Linked DNA regions of Homo sapiens: all the other regions are linked to region 2. The links are contacts of gene promoters, found by promoter capture Hi-C in blood cells and fetal thymus (Javierre and others, 2016). All regions are on one chromosome and are shown on one strand. Each heading gives the region's core, a stretch centred on a gene start or on the middle of the fragment in contact. The rest is flanking DNA. Distances are from core to core; before and after follow the strand shown. Region 1 has its middle 56 kb from the start of TENT5A. Region 2 holds the start of BCKDHB (branched chain keto acid dehydrogenase E1 subunit beta). Region 3 has its middle 35 kb from the start of TENT5A. Region 4 has its middle 15 kb from the start of TENT5A.

What was found. The method cuts DNA at HindIII sites, captures the fragments that hold promoters and counts their contacts. A CHiCAGO score of 5 or more calls a contact.
Region 1: a fragment that was not itself captured here is called in contact with the fragment with the promoter of BCKDHB in region 2 in 1 of 17 cell types (neutrophils); the score reaches 5.5 in neutrophils.
Region 3: a contact is called between a fragment that was not itself captured here and the fragment with the promoter of BCKDHB in region 2, in 4 of 17 cell types (total B cells, neutrophils, total CD4 T cells and 1 more). The highest score is 9.5, in total B cells.
Region 4: a contact is called between a fragment that was not itself captured here and the fragment with the promoter of BCKDHB in region 2, in 7 of 17 cell types (neutrophils, monocytes, naive CD8 T cells and 4 more). The highest score is 9.7, in neutrophils.

What each region holds. Positions count from the first base shown.
Region 1 is chr6:81,695,300-81,698,283 of GRCh38, forward strand. No RefSeq gene overlaps it. Among named protein-coding and RNA genes, the nearest start is that of TENT5A, 56 kb to the right of the region's middle. The HindIII fragment of the contact is 7,622 bases long and covers 1-2,984 here.
Region 2 is chr6:80,105,272-80,107,971 of GRCh38, forward strand. BCKDHB (branched chain keto acid dehydrogenase E1 subunit beta) reads left to right here and starts at 1,400. Exons shown (of 10, transcript NM_183050.4): 1 at 1,400-1,618. The coding sequence starts at 1,423. RefSeq lists enhancers at 1,196-1,696, 1,663-1,742 and silencers at 1,283-1,482, 1,513-1,612. The HindIII fragment of the contact is 20,612 bases long and covers 917-2,700 here.
Region 3 is chr6:81,716,612-81,719,323 of GRCh38, forward strand. No RefSeq gene overlaps it. Among named protein-coding and RNA genes, the nearest start is that of TENT5A, 35 kb to the right of the region's middle. The HindIII fragment of the contact is 2,697 bases long and covers 6-2,702 here.
Region 4 is chr6:81,735,738-81,738,737 of GRCh38, forward strand. No RefSeq gene overlaps it. Among named protein-coding and RNA genes, the nearest start is that of TENT5A, 15 kb to the right of the region's middle. The HindIII fragment of the contact is 6,057 bases long and covers 1-3,000 here.

The sequences.
Region 1 (2,984 bases), core at 315-2,814, 1.6 Mb after region 2:
CAATTTTCTTTTGTTCCTTACTTTCTTAGGGATCTCCTTATTTTTACTATTTCAACTGATTTTTCTGTCTGTATAACTTCCAATAACCTCCATTTTTAACTCTCATTTGAGCTCCAAGCAACATTCACATTTGCTTATTTGTTAGTCCTATCTAACTATCTCATTGGCATCTCAAATATCCAATATTGAACTCATTAACTTCCTTCCAAAAAGAAGTTCTTCCTCATGAGATTTCTAATAGTATAAATGAAATATCTTCTATTTCTAAGACATCTCAAAGTCACCTTTGATTTTCTTCTCTCCTTTATTTTCCTCTTTCAGTAATTGTGCAAATCTTTGTGGTATTCTGTCTCTGCAAATGACCTTATGCTATTCACTCCCACTGCAGTGATTCAGGTGTCATTATTTTTCTTTACACTTTTTTTTATTAAGTATACATACAGAAAGACACACAAAATATACATCTTTATTTGCAATGGATATATGCAAGTGAATAAATCCAAATATCCAAAACCAAGATCAGGAAGCTGAATTTCACCAGCACTCTAGGACTCCCTTTGTAATCTCTCTCAGTCTCTACTGCCCATAAGGGTAACCATTATCCTAACAGCTAATAACAGAGATTGTCTTTTTGCTGGTATTACTGAGATGACTTCTGAACTGAACATCCTGCCTCTAGAATCTCTCCCAATCAGTTACACTTATGGTCACCACAACTTTCTTCCTAGTGTACACATCTGTTGATGGTATTCTTTCCCAGATATCCACTCGTTCTTCACTGGATCACAGAATGAAATCTAACCTCATAGTATTGCATTCAGTGCCTCCCCACCTCCTCGTTCAATCTGGTATACCCTTCTGATTTTTTCCATATCATTTGAAAGATCTGAGCACTAGTTACCACAAAAGGAAGCTAATTATACTGATTGAATATCAGTTACTGTCACAGTAATGACTTTAGTCCATGTAACATACATGGTTGATATTTGGGGAAGGGTAAGGGGTATTATGAAAAAAAGGGAAGTGCTTAAATCACATTTCCTCCTTTACATAGTTATAGAATAGGTCTGTATAAACAAAATAAAATGTTAGTAATTAGGTAAAAAGGGTCAAAGATAACTATTTTGTTCATTTGTTCATTCATTCAGCAATCGTTTAGAGGCATTATTTATAGGGTAAGATGAACATGCAGATGCTGCCACAATTCCACAATATACCTGTCTTCACTTACACAGAGGTCTCCATTCTCCTCTGCCAGTGGTTTGGCACCTATGGAAATGCTAATTTCATTTTAAAATAAGCAACCTCTTGAAAGAGCCATATTCATTTGCAAGCCTGTCTCTTGCCAGATATTCAAAAGCAGGTGCAACGGGGTCAGCTACCTCTGAGATATAAACAAAAGGTTTCATGTATGAGTCAGTGTGACCTTTACCAGCAGAAAACAGGAGGACCAGAGCTGAAAGCAGCAGCTTATGTATTTAGTTAATCCAGTTGCATGAATAAGCAGAGTGTAAAAGGTACAAGTGTTTTCAGTGAATGTAGATTAAATGTGGGCCTCATAGGGTTCGTTTTCAATATTCATAGATGAAACATATTACTCAGGCTAAAATTTCTTCTTCACGGACTCCTACCTCATGGACAGATGGATTCAAAGAATTATCATATTTCTCTATCTAAAAGTTGAGAACTTTTCACCCAAAAAAATTCATCACCTATATAAGTAGATTTTAATGAGTCAAGTCGTTCAAACAACAAAATAATCTTTCTTTTGGCAAAGTAATAAAAAGTACTCTGTTCTTTTAATAATTTGGAATTATTTCAAATACTTTCCTCATGCACTTCAGTGATTCTTCTTAAACCTTTCTGCAATTTACCTTTTCAAAATAAAAATTCTTGTTTAAAACTTTTTTTTTTCTAATTTCTTCTAGGAGGAAGACTTCCTATTGTAAATGCACATCAGCTAGTTTCAGAGAAAATTAAGCAGTGTTTGTTTCTGCTTGTGTACATTAATACTTAGAAATATCCTAGAAGATAATGAACTTAACTTCTCTTGGCATAAAGTACATAAACTGTGAGGAGTGCAGTCGAGGAGCTCTAGTCTAGTTTTCCGGACTTAACTGACCATACAGTTTTTCACTAGCAGATTTTTGGCACTAAAAAAAATATTGGTAGCAAGATTTTATCCCAAGAGAATTCAAAATATATTTAATTGCCAACAGCAGCATTAGGCCCATTTTGCCTTCTCTACAAATGACTTGCACAAAACAGACCCCCCTTAATCGTTCATTGAATACATTCACAAACTGCATGTATACATGTGTATACATATGTAAGTACGAAATGCTCAGGCCCATGCTGCTTGACATGTCATTGGAAAGAGGCCCACAGTGATCTGAGGACATTTTATAACCACCCCTGTGAGTTCTCCGGACTAACATTCATGTATAATGAGTAAGCATATGCTCCAATGCTTCCTCTGGCCATCATTCTGACAGCCCTCAAAGGTCACTGAGGTCAGTACGTATTAAAAGAAAACATTCTCAAATCAGGTCTGTCTTTCTCCTCCTGCCTATACTGTTGATTTCGGGGTCACCCGAGTGCCTTGTCCTTGGAATTGAGATGACCAGAAGACTCTGTTACCCTCTCATAGGACTTGGAAAACCCAAGCCCTGCTGAGGGGTGCATTAGATTTTCCTTTATGTTTTCTGAGAACCAATTAGATTTTCCTTTATGTTTTCTGAGAACCAATTAGATTTTCCTTTATGTTTTCTGAGAACCAATTAGATTCTTCTGAAGCCCCAGGAAGATTTTTTGTTCATATTTATGTAGGGTGGTCTTATTTTCTGTAGATCCTCTCACAAGAGAAAAGTGGACATTAATAATTAGGCTTTCTACCTTTATCTTTTTGGATGCACTTAACCACAGGACTTTTGTCAAAGGCCTTTGCACAGGTGCAAATCTCTGTGACAAAATCATACATTAAT
Region 2 (2,700 bases), core at 150-2,649:
ATCTCAGTACCCCCAGCTCCCTAAACTATCAACAAATAGAAAAAAAGCTCTATTCATTTTTATCCTTGTTCTTTACTCTCCTTAGTTTAAACCCAAATTTGACTATGTAAATGTAATTTCATTTTGTTACCCCTTCCTTCATTAAAACAAAAATACCCTTCATGCACATGCAAAACACTCTACCCCACACTATTAAAACAGCAGAAATGAACACTAACAAAAGCCAAGATAAAAAATTTCCCCAATGTTGAATTTTTGGACTTAGTGTGGGGGTAGGAAAAATGGAGACATAATTCTGGTTCTCCCTTTGGCAGTTTTCAATTGCTGTTTCTTAATCTCAGTCAGAAAACACATTTCTCTGCCTCTCCTTTTGCCCCATTTCTACCCTCTCCTCCCTTGCCCCTGTGCAAAACCAAAGATGGGTTAAGAGGCAAGGCATAATGGAAGAGGAATGTTCTTTTCCTCCACTCCCACTTTCTTCTTCAAATTCTGTTTTGGGACCATCCTTCCCCACCCTCCCATTTTCATCTGATGGACACACTGTCTCTGTTGTCTCTTGTCATATTTGATTTTATGATATTTCATGTTTTATGTGCTTTTTTTTTTTTTTAGTAAATTCATGGACAGAGAATGTATCCTGGTAAACACTTAGATTAAAACAAATTTACATAGTTGATTACTATAAATGAAAATTAGTGACTCAAATTCTCCAGGTTTCTAAGCTACTTAGACTAAGCCAATCAGGTAATTTTTGCTACTTCTGGGCAAAATGTATCTGAATTCCTATTCAGTGGATTTGCAGGATGAAATCTAAGTTTACCTCTTTCATCTCTCATTTAAATGTGGAAAAACGAAATCAATAAAAATCTATATATGCTTATTAAGCATTTTAAGGAGGGTGTGAATAAGGAGTGAAAGCTTTGAGCAGTGACTACAGCAGTTTTTCGAAAGTCAAAACAATAACCAATGCCAATCAGTAGCTCTCTTCACCTCTCACACAATAATAGAGACAGGACAGGATAAAAAAGGGTTACATTTAAAAAAAAGTATGGATGTTAAACCATTGGAAATGGCACTGTAAATGACACCGGAAAAGATCGCCTCCAGGCACTGTGTGGAACTTTGCAAACTCGGGTCCTCACCCGAGGACCGCACGGCCGACCTCGGGGAGGCTCCACCCCAGAAACTATTTCATTGGCGCCACCTCTAGCCCACACTTCCCCTCTTCCGCATGCGCACAAGGAGCAGAAGCCGACCAGCTCGTCACGTCGCCTTCCCCGCCCCTAAATTTCCAGTTCCGATTGGTCTGTTTCATGGGACCGCCCCTCTGGCCCGACCAATGTGGAAGCCTCCTCGGGTGCTCCGCCCTCCCCGCAGGCGGCGTGCGGCTGCATAGCCTGAGAATCCCGGTGGTGAGCGGGGATGGCGGTTGTAGCGGCGGCTGCCGGCTGGCTACTCAGGCTCAGGGCGGCAGGGGCTGAGGGGCACTGGCGTCGGCTTCCTGGCGCGGGGCTGGCGCGGGGCTTTTTGCACCCCGCCGCGACTGTCGAGGATGCGGCCCAGAGGCGGCAGGTGGCTCATTTTACTTTCCAGCCAGATCCGGAGCCCCGGGAGTACGGTGAGCCCTGGGACTGCCCACTCGGTCCCGCTGCAGCCCGGACTCCCAGGCTCGCAGGCGCCCGCGAGGGGCAGGGGCCGGCAGGCTGCAATCCTTGCATCCCAGCTTATTAACTTCCTGACTCTCTGGAACCTCCTTGCCTCAGGGTCTAACTGTGGTTCACTTCTTGCTCTATTTTTGTGACTGTTCAGCCCTCGAGACGCAGTCCCCCCTCCCCCGCAACTTTGAGATGGGTGAGAGGGCATACTGCCACCTGGAAGAGCCTGAGGGTGGAGGGGTGGTGCCCAGGGAACGCCTCCCTTTTCTCTGTCCTCCGTCCTTGCTTTCTCAACCCAGGCCTTAGGTGTTGTTCCAGCCTGGCCAGGACTGGGCCACTAGCTTAGGTAGAGGCATTTAAAAGATATATATATATGTTTATATATATATATTTTAAATGTATATTATATATATTATATATAAAATATATATATGTATATAAAATCAATTCAGTTACTCAGTCCCTTGGTTTCTTCTTACATACAGAAATTGTGTGTATGTGTGTGTGTGTGTGTGTGTGTATATATCCACACACATATATATATGTGTGGATATATATACGCGCATATATATGCATATATATGTGCGCATATATATATATATGCATATATATATATGCACACATATATATGCATATATATATGCATATATGTATATATGTCCCTTGGTTTCTTCTTACCTACAGAATTCTGAGTAATTGAACTGATTTTCCCAAGGTCACAGAACAGGTCCTTCCTAGAGATGTGAAAGAATTCAGACTTTCTACTTGAGCTTAGTACTGAGCTTGTCCTGGGCTATGCTGCCACTTAGCCAAGGAGGTGAAGGGGATGAGAGGAGGAAGCCATAGGAAGGGCATGTAGCAAACTCCTCATAGTATGACTGTTGCATGATTTTTACCATTTCTGCAAGTTTCATGTAATGTCTCTCATCAGAATATCAGATCCAGTGTCTCTCTTCAGAATATCAGGAAACTGTAGGGAAACATGTATTGCTTCCTTGTCTAATAACTTCTCATGTGCATGCTAGAGCTGACATTTTTGGAAGTG
Region 3 (2,712 bases), core at 104-2,603, 1.6 Mb after region 2:
CAGGAAGCTTCTCTAATAGACTTTATTGACCACAAAGTCAGTGAAAAAAACATATAAATGAATAACCGTACATAAAGGTAGAGAAAAGAAGGTCATTTCCCACCCCACTAAAAACTTCAGAATTCATTCATCCTGCCTCATACTCTACAGACAAAGAACTTGAGCTCAGGGATTAGGTGGTGTGACCCTCTTAACTAATTAGTGGCAGAGCTGACCCATACCAATATTCTGACTCCTACTTAAGCATGCCCCACCCCACTAAAAAAAACACTGTCTCCTCTTTTGGAAACAAAAAGAAATTCCTCAACAACAACTAAAATAAGGTGTTGTTTGAGAAAAAGCTATACCTATTTTTAGCTTATTGTTCCATGATACCTGTAACGTGCTACTTTTCAAATGGAGATATCTAAGGATGTGAGAGAGAAACATGACAAACATTTAAATCTGAGAAATACAGGCTCACCTTCAAAAATTTATAAAAATGTAAGCATGAAGTAATATAAACTCACATGACCCCAAAAATCCATGTGAGCATCACAACCTTTCATTTCATCCTGCATGTCAGTTTGAGCTAGTCTGTCAAATGCATAATAGGGAAATAATTTTCCTGAGATGAAGCAAAGATAAAGACTTGCTGCTATAATGAATTACCAGTGAGTATTTTCTGGACACAAAAACATTTTGAATCAAGGAATCTCACTTGCAATCTAAGACAGGTATCAAATTAAATGGCTTCATTTTAATAATATTAGTCAAGAGTTTTCATTTGTCTTACTCATCTACTTAAGGCCATATAACAAAAAAGGTAATTATACTTACAAAAAGGTAGTTAATATGAGAAAAAAAAACATAACCTAATGTTTCCCTGACCCTGAAGTGTCAATGTAAATAACTGAAGAGAATTTTTAAAAATTCTAAGTTATACATGAAAAAAATGATACCACTAGAGTAGCTGAAATCAGCTTTGACTGCTAGGACTTGGTATTCAACAGTTTTTCATAAGAAAAGTGGTATCTTAACTGGTAATTTCCAATTGCAAATAAAATACTACAGCTGGAAAAATATACATATTGGAATTCATAAAATTCCCATGAAAACAAGAGAGGAAGTCTTCTCCTTGCTTGAAGTCAATGTGGAAAAGACATTAGGAACTTTCATAATCTAAACTGAAGCCTGATATCTTTACCCTATTATTAATGTGGAAATAGTGACTTAACAGGTAAAAACAATTGCATAAGAGCCGTCTTCAGCTTATAAAATACTAAAGGCTAAGCATTCAAAAGAAGCACTAAAATATAATATTAGCACTACTAAACAGATGACATTTAGATAATCATTCTTTACAAATGTGAAGGAGGAAGTCATCTTTAAAACAATTATCACGAGGAAGTAAATGTCTATTTGAATAAGAAAAACTTGTCAATACTTAAGATATAGTGATCAGGACTATGATCGTCTAACCATAAAATACGTGAAATATATTCTTGGGTAATATAGGATGGAACCTTTGGTGAAAAAGTAATTAATTATTTTACTAATAACCCCTATTTTTTGACAATATTTCTTTCAGGAGTCTAGGAAAAAAATGGTGTTTTAAACTTTATAAAAATATCATGAATCCTCTGAAGGAAGAGGATACCACAAAGGAAAGATTAGTAGGTTATGAATAAGTGAATATTGCCCAATAAACCTAGTTGTGAACATCCCCAAATGAGGGAAGAAATAAGAAAAGAAAACCATATGTCTTGGATGACCTTTTTAGCAAACCTCAGGGAGACAATGAAAGGAAAAAACTGATTGAGAGGGGAAATAAAAACCTACAAAAATTGAGTCATGGATCTGACTTTCAACGGTAAGAATTTTTTTCCCCTCTCTGATAAGAACAATTTATTTCTATTTTACACAAATGTTCTATAAATAAGTCTACTTAATTCAACTTTTGCATACTCTTTCCATGTTCCTTACTCTACTGTTATCCTCTCAGTTACCAAATTTATGGATTAACTATAACTTTCAATTTCATGTTTAGTTTTACTGAACTCTTTCAAGCTGATTTCCATTTTGGTAAAAGAAACTGTAAATATGATTTTATTTTGCCTTTCCTTCTTCAAAGCATATCTCATGTTGGTAATGACACTATTAAACAGGAGCATCTTGGACTTTAGGAGTGAGATTGGTGGAGATAATCACTTTGTAAGATCGCATGGGAGGAATTATGACTTTTATGTTATCACCCAGTTTATCTCCTCCACTAGGCTGGGAATTCTATGAGGAAACTCATCTAACTTATTATTTGGTTGGTGTATACTCAAGAAATATTTGTTGATCATATTTTTAGTTGAGTGTTTCTTTATTTTCCAAAGACAACATGTCTAAATGGCTCTGATTATTTGACTATGAAGAACCACGTGTGTTCCAGAGCATTTATCTTTTGTTAGCTCAGCTACCTAACTTTTCACAGCCTAACTTTTCACAGCCATTTTTTCTTTTCCACACCATTTGTAAAGAACTGGTAGCTAACATATCTGTTTGATTGTTAAGATATACCTGTACTCCCCTAATCTATTCAATCAATTTTGGTTCAAGTCATTTTTATTTCAAGGAGAACCCTAAAAATCTTTCTTTATCCAGGAAGAAGTTGGTGGAAATACTGCTGGGAAAATTATTCCTCCTGAGAAAGCAGAATCAGCATTTCTCTAAGAAGCTTTGAGG
Region 4 (3,000 bases), core at 340-2,839, 1.6 Mb after region 2:
CCCTCTTTAAATCCAACTTTATCTTTTTGACATGCTGAAATAACCCCTCAATAATCTCTCCTTCACCTTCAGTGACAATATTGCATTGAAGGACATAAACTTTAGCTACTTTCTTCCTCTCTTTCTTAGTCAGAACCCCATATGTTGCCAAATCAACCCTACCTTTGGAATTAAATGAAGCATCACCCTACAGGACATAAAATTTGCATTCCTGCACAGTTACTCAAGGACCAGATGAAGCAACTAGAAATGTGAAAGAGGTAGTTCTACCCAGAGTGAATTTTGACCAGTGGGAAAAGGGAGACAGAGAGAAAGCAAGCAGGCAATTATTTCTCCTTTCTCTCCCCTGCATACTACTCCCAGGTACAGTGCTTCCTTTCAAGCCTTCTAGATAATTCCTTCCTGCTGACTGAACAAGCCTGCTGAATTATCTGATATGTTGTGTTATGGCTGTGATGCAGTAGCCAGCATGGTAGCACACTGTGTTGCAAGAGATTACATCTGTTCCTTACCTCAACATCCTGTGATGTGATTGTATCTGGAAAATAAACTATTAGAATCATAATCATTGCTTCAGGCTCGGCTTTCCAGAGGATTCAGGCTAAGTGACATAGATTTGACACTATTGGAACCTGTAAAGCAAGGGCTCTGAGCAGAGCTGTGCTTCAGAAACACTTTGTGAAAATCACAGGTATTTTTGCTTCACTCAAGTCTGACTATATAAAAATGGCTAAGGGTGGGCCTGGGCATGCATGTGTTTCTTTAAGTACAGTTTTAGAAATGCATGAACTAGTACAAGTTCAGAACTAAAATCCAGGCCCACTAACCTGATTCTCTGTGCTCCCATCCCTATGAACTATGTACCAAGTGACAAGAGAATTTTGGTGCCACTATGTACTGAGAAAGGCTTATGACATCATTAACTAGAAGTCACAGACTAGAATAAGAATTCCAGGGAACATGTCTGTGGTGGCATAACTAAACAGGTGTGATAAGCATACAGCACAAGAGGACTAATTAACATTTTAGGAGTTTCATGAGTTTATTCAGAATTTTGTAAGAAGTTAGCATATCTCATTATACTCTTTACCTTGCCTTTCAGACATTTTCTTTAATTTTTTTTAAAGATTCAAAAGCAGCCACCTGGTAGCATGCATTGCCAATAAGAAGCGATGTAGGCTAGACTAATTGATCACTTTTTAAAGATTAAGTGGCCCATTTTCTGTAATATGAATACAGAAAACAGCTTTGACAACACCGAAGTAGTTTATTGAATTTTGACTGTCAACTGAAAATTTAAATCATGCTTATTTTTCACAAGGTAATCCACTCACAATAGGCAATTGATGTGATCTCTTTCTGTAAGAAAAGCTCTCATGCTCTTCCTGAACCTTCTACTTACTGTGCTGTTATGATGCACCTGCCTTTTGGATAGATGGTTGATAGGAGATGGGTTGTTAAAGACACAATTTACCTTGTGTGTTTCAGGCAGAAATAGACTCTCTCTGTGTAATCACTGAATGAGTTCCAAAAGCCTTTATGTCTTACATACAAGCTCAGACACTCCAGAACTCATTTTTCTTAACTTAAAAGTGGGATAATTGTAATACCTTTTGTACCTATCAGGATTATTGTGACTATTAACTGGAAAATATAATTGTTTTATCAAATTGCTATGAATGTGTACCACTTCTGTTATACATTATATGGAAAAGCCTTCCATTGGGAAGTATTGGTCACATTGTATAACCATTCTTTTTCTTGGGGCCTGTACTACTTCATCTGGGCTACAACTGTGTATAGCTCAGATATCCTCCTGCTCTTGATATCCTCCTCTTTACAGATTTCTTCAAGTGGTTCTTGAAACCTTAAGTTTATTTAGAAGGCCTAAATCTACCTTCTTTCTAATTGGAACTTTACATAAAATTCTCATTATTTATTGTGAAATACATCCTCCTATTTCATTTTTCTCGATCCATCTCCCTCCTAGCCTCCCTTCTCATGTGAATCACGTGGGTTAAGTAGGTTGAAATTCTGGACAAGATTCAGAGAATTCACATTGGTTTTAATATATACAAGTAGCAAAAATTAGAGACTAATTTTTAAAATTTTTTGTAGACTTTGTTTTATCTATGAAGTCCAGCATACTTTGTCACATACCTAACTTTTTCAATAATTATAAAACGGCACCTAAAATCAGAAGCCTTATTGTGACAACATGCCATAGCATGGCAGGCACAAGGTCTGACAACACGGCAACATTCTGAAATTGGGAGACTCATGAAAAACCCATAACAAATGGGCACAACAGGTATAATGCCCCAGGGCAAGACTGTTCTATGAGGCTTGACCAGCTAAGGATGCCACTGGAAATACTGATTGCTTTTTAGAAAAGGCTAATGGGCAGACTGCCCTTTCTACATTTCCCTTCCTCAAATAACAAAGTGCATTTCCTGAATAGTAGCCTCTATTCTTACTCAAAATATAACAAACAGATCCAGTCTTTGTGCTCTATGTCTTGAAAATTTCTTTCAGGGATTCCCTAGTTCTGAGAAATGTAGCAGATGATTTAAAAAAAAGAAAGAAAGAAAGAAAGTGTAGTTACTACCCAAGACAACTGGAATCCTCACTTTACCAGGCTGCCAGATTTGGTTTGGAACAGATAACAGATCCATGGGTGCTAGCAGATATGTCCCTGAGTACCATGCCACAACAAACATTGTTTACCCATTGTTCTCAACTCCTCAAGCTCAGGAATCAAAAAGAGGCAACAGGTTCTTTCGTTCAAATACCCCTGCCCTAAACAACTCAGCTGAGAATATCTCTTTCATACTGTTCAGTGCTCCTAAATTGATTCAAAATTGGAATTTCTCCACCTGGGTTTTCCTCCATTCTTTTTCAACAAGCAGGCAATCTCTAAGATCCTTCTCTTATTTCAACAGTGTTCCTGATGACTCTTCCTTCACCATTTTAACATCTTCTTTGATATGTTCCCAATAT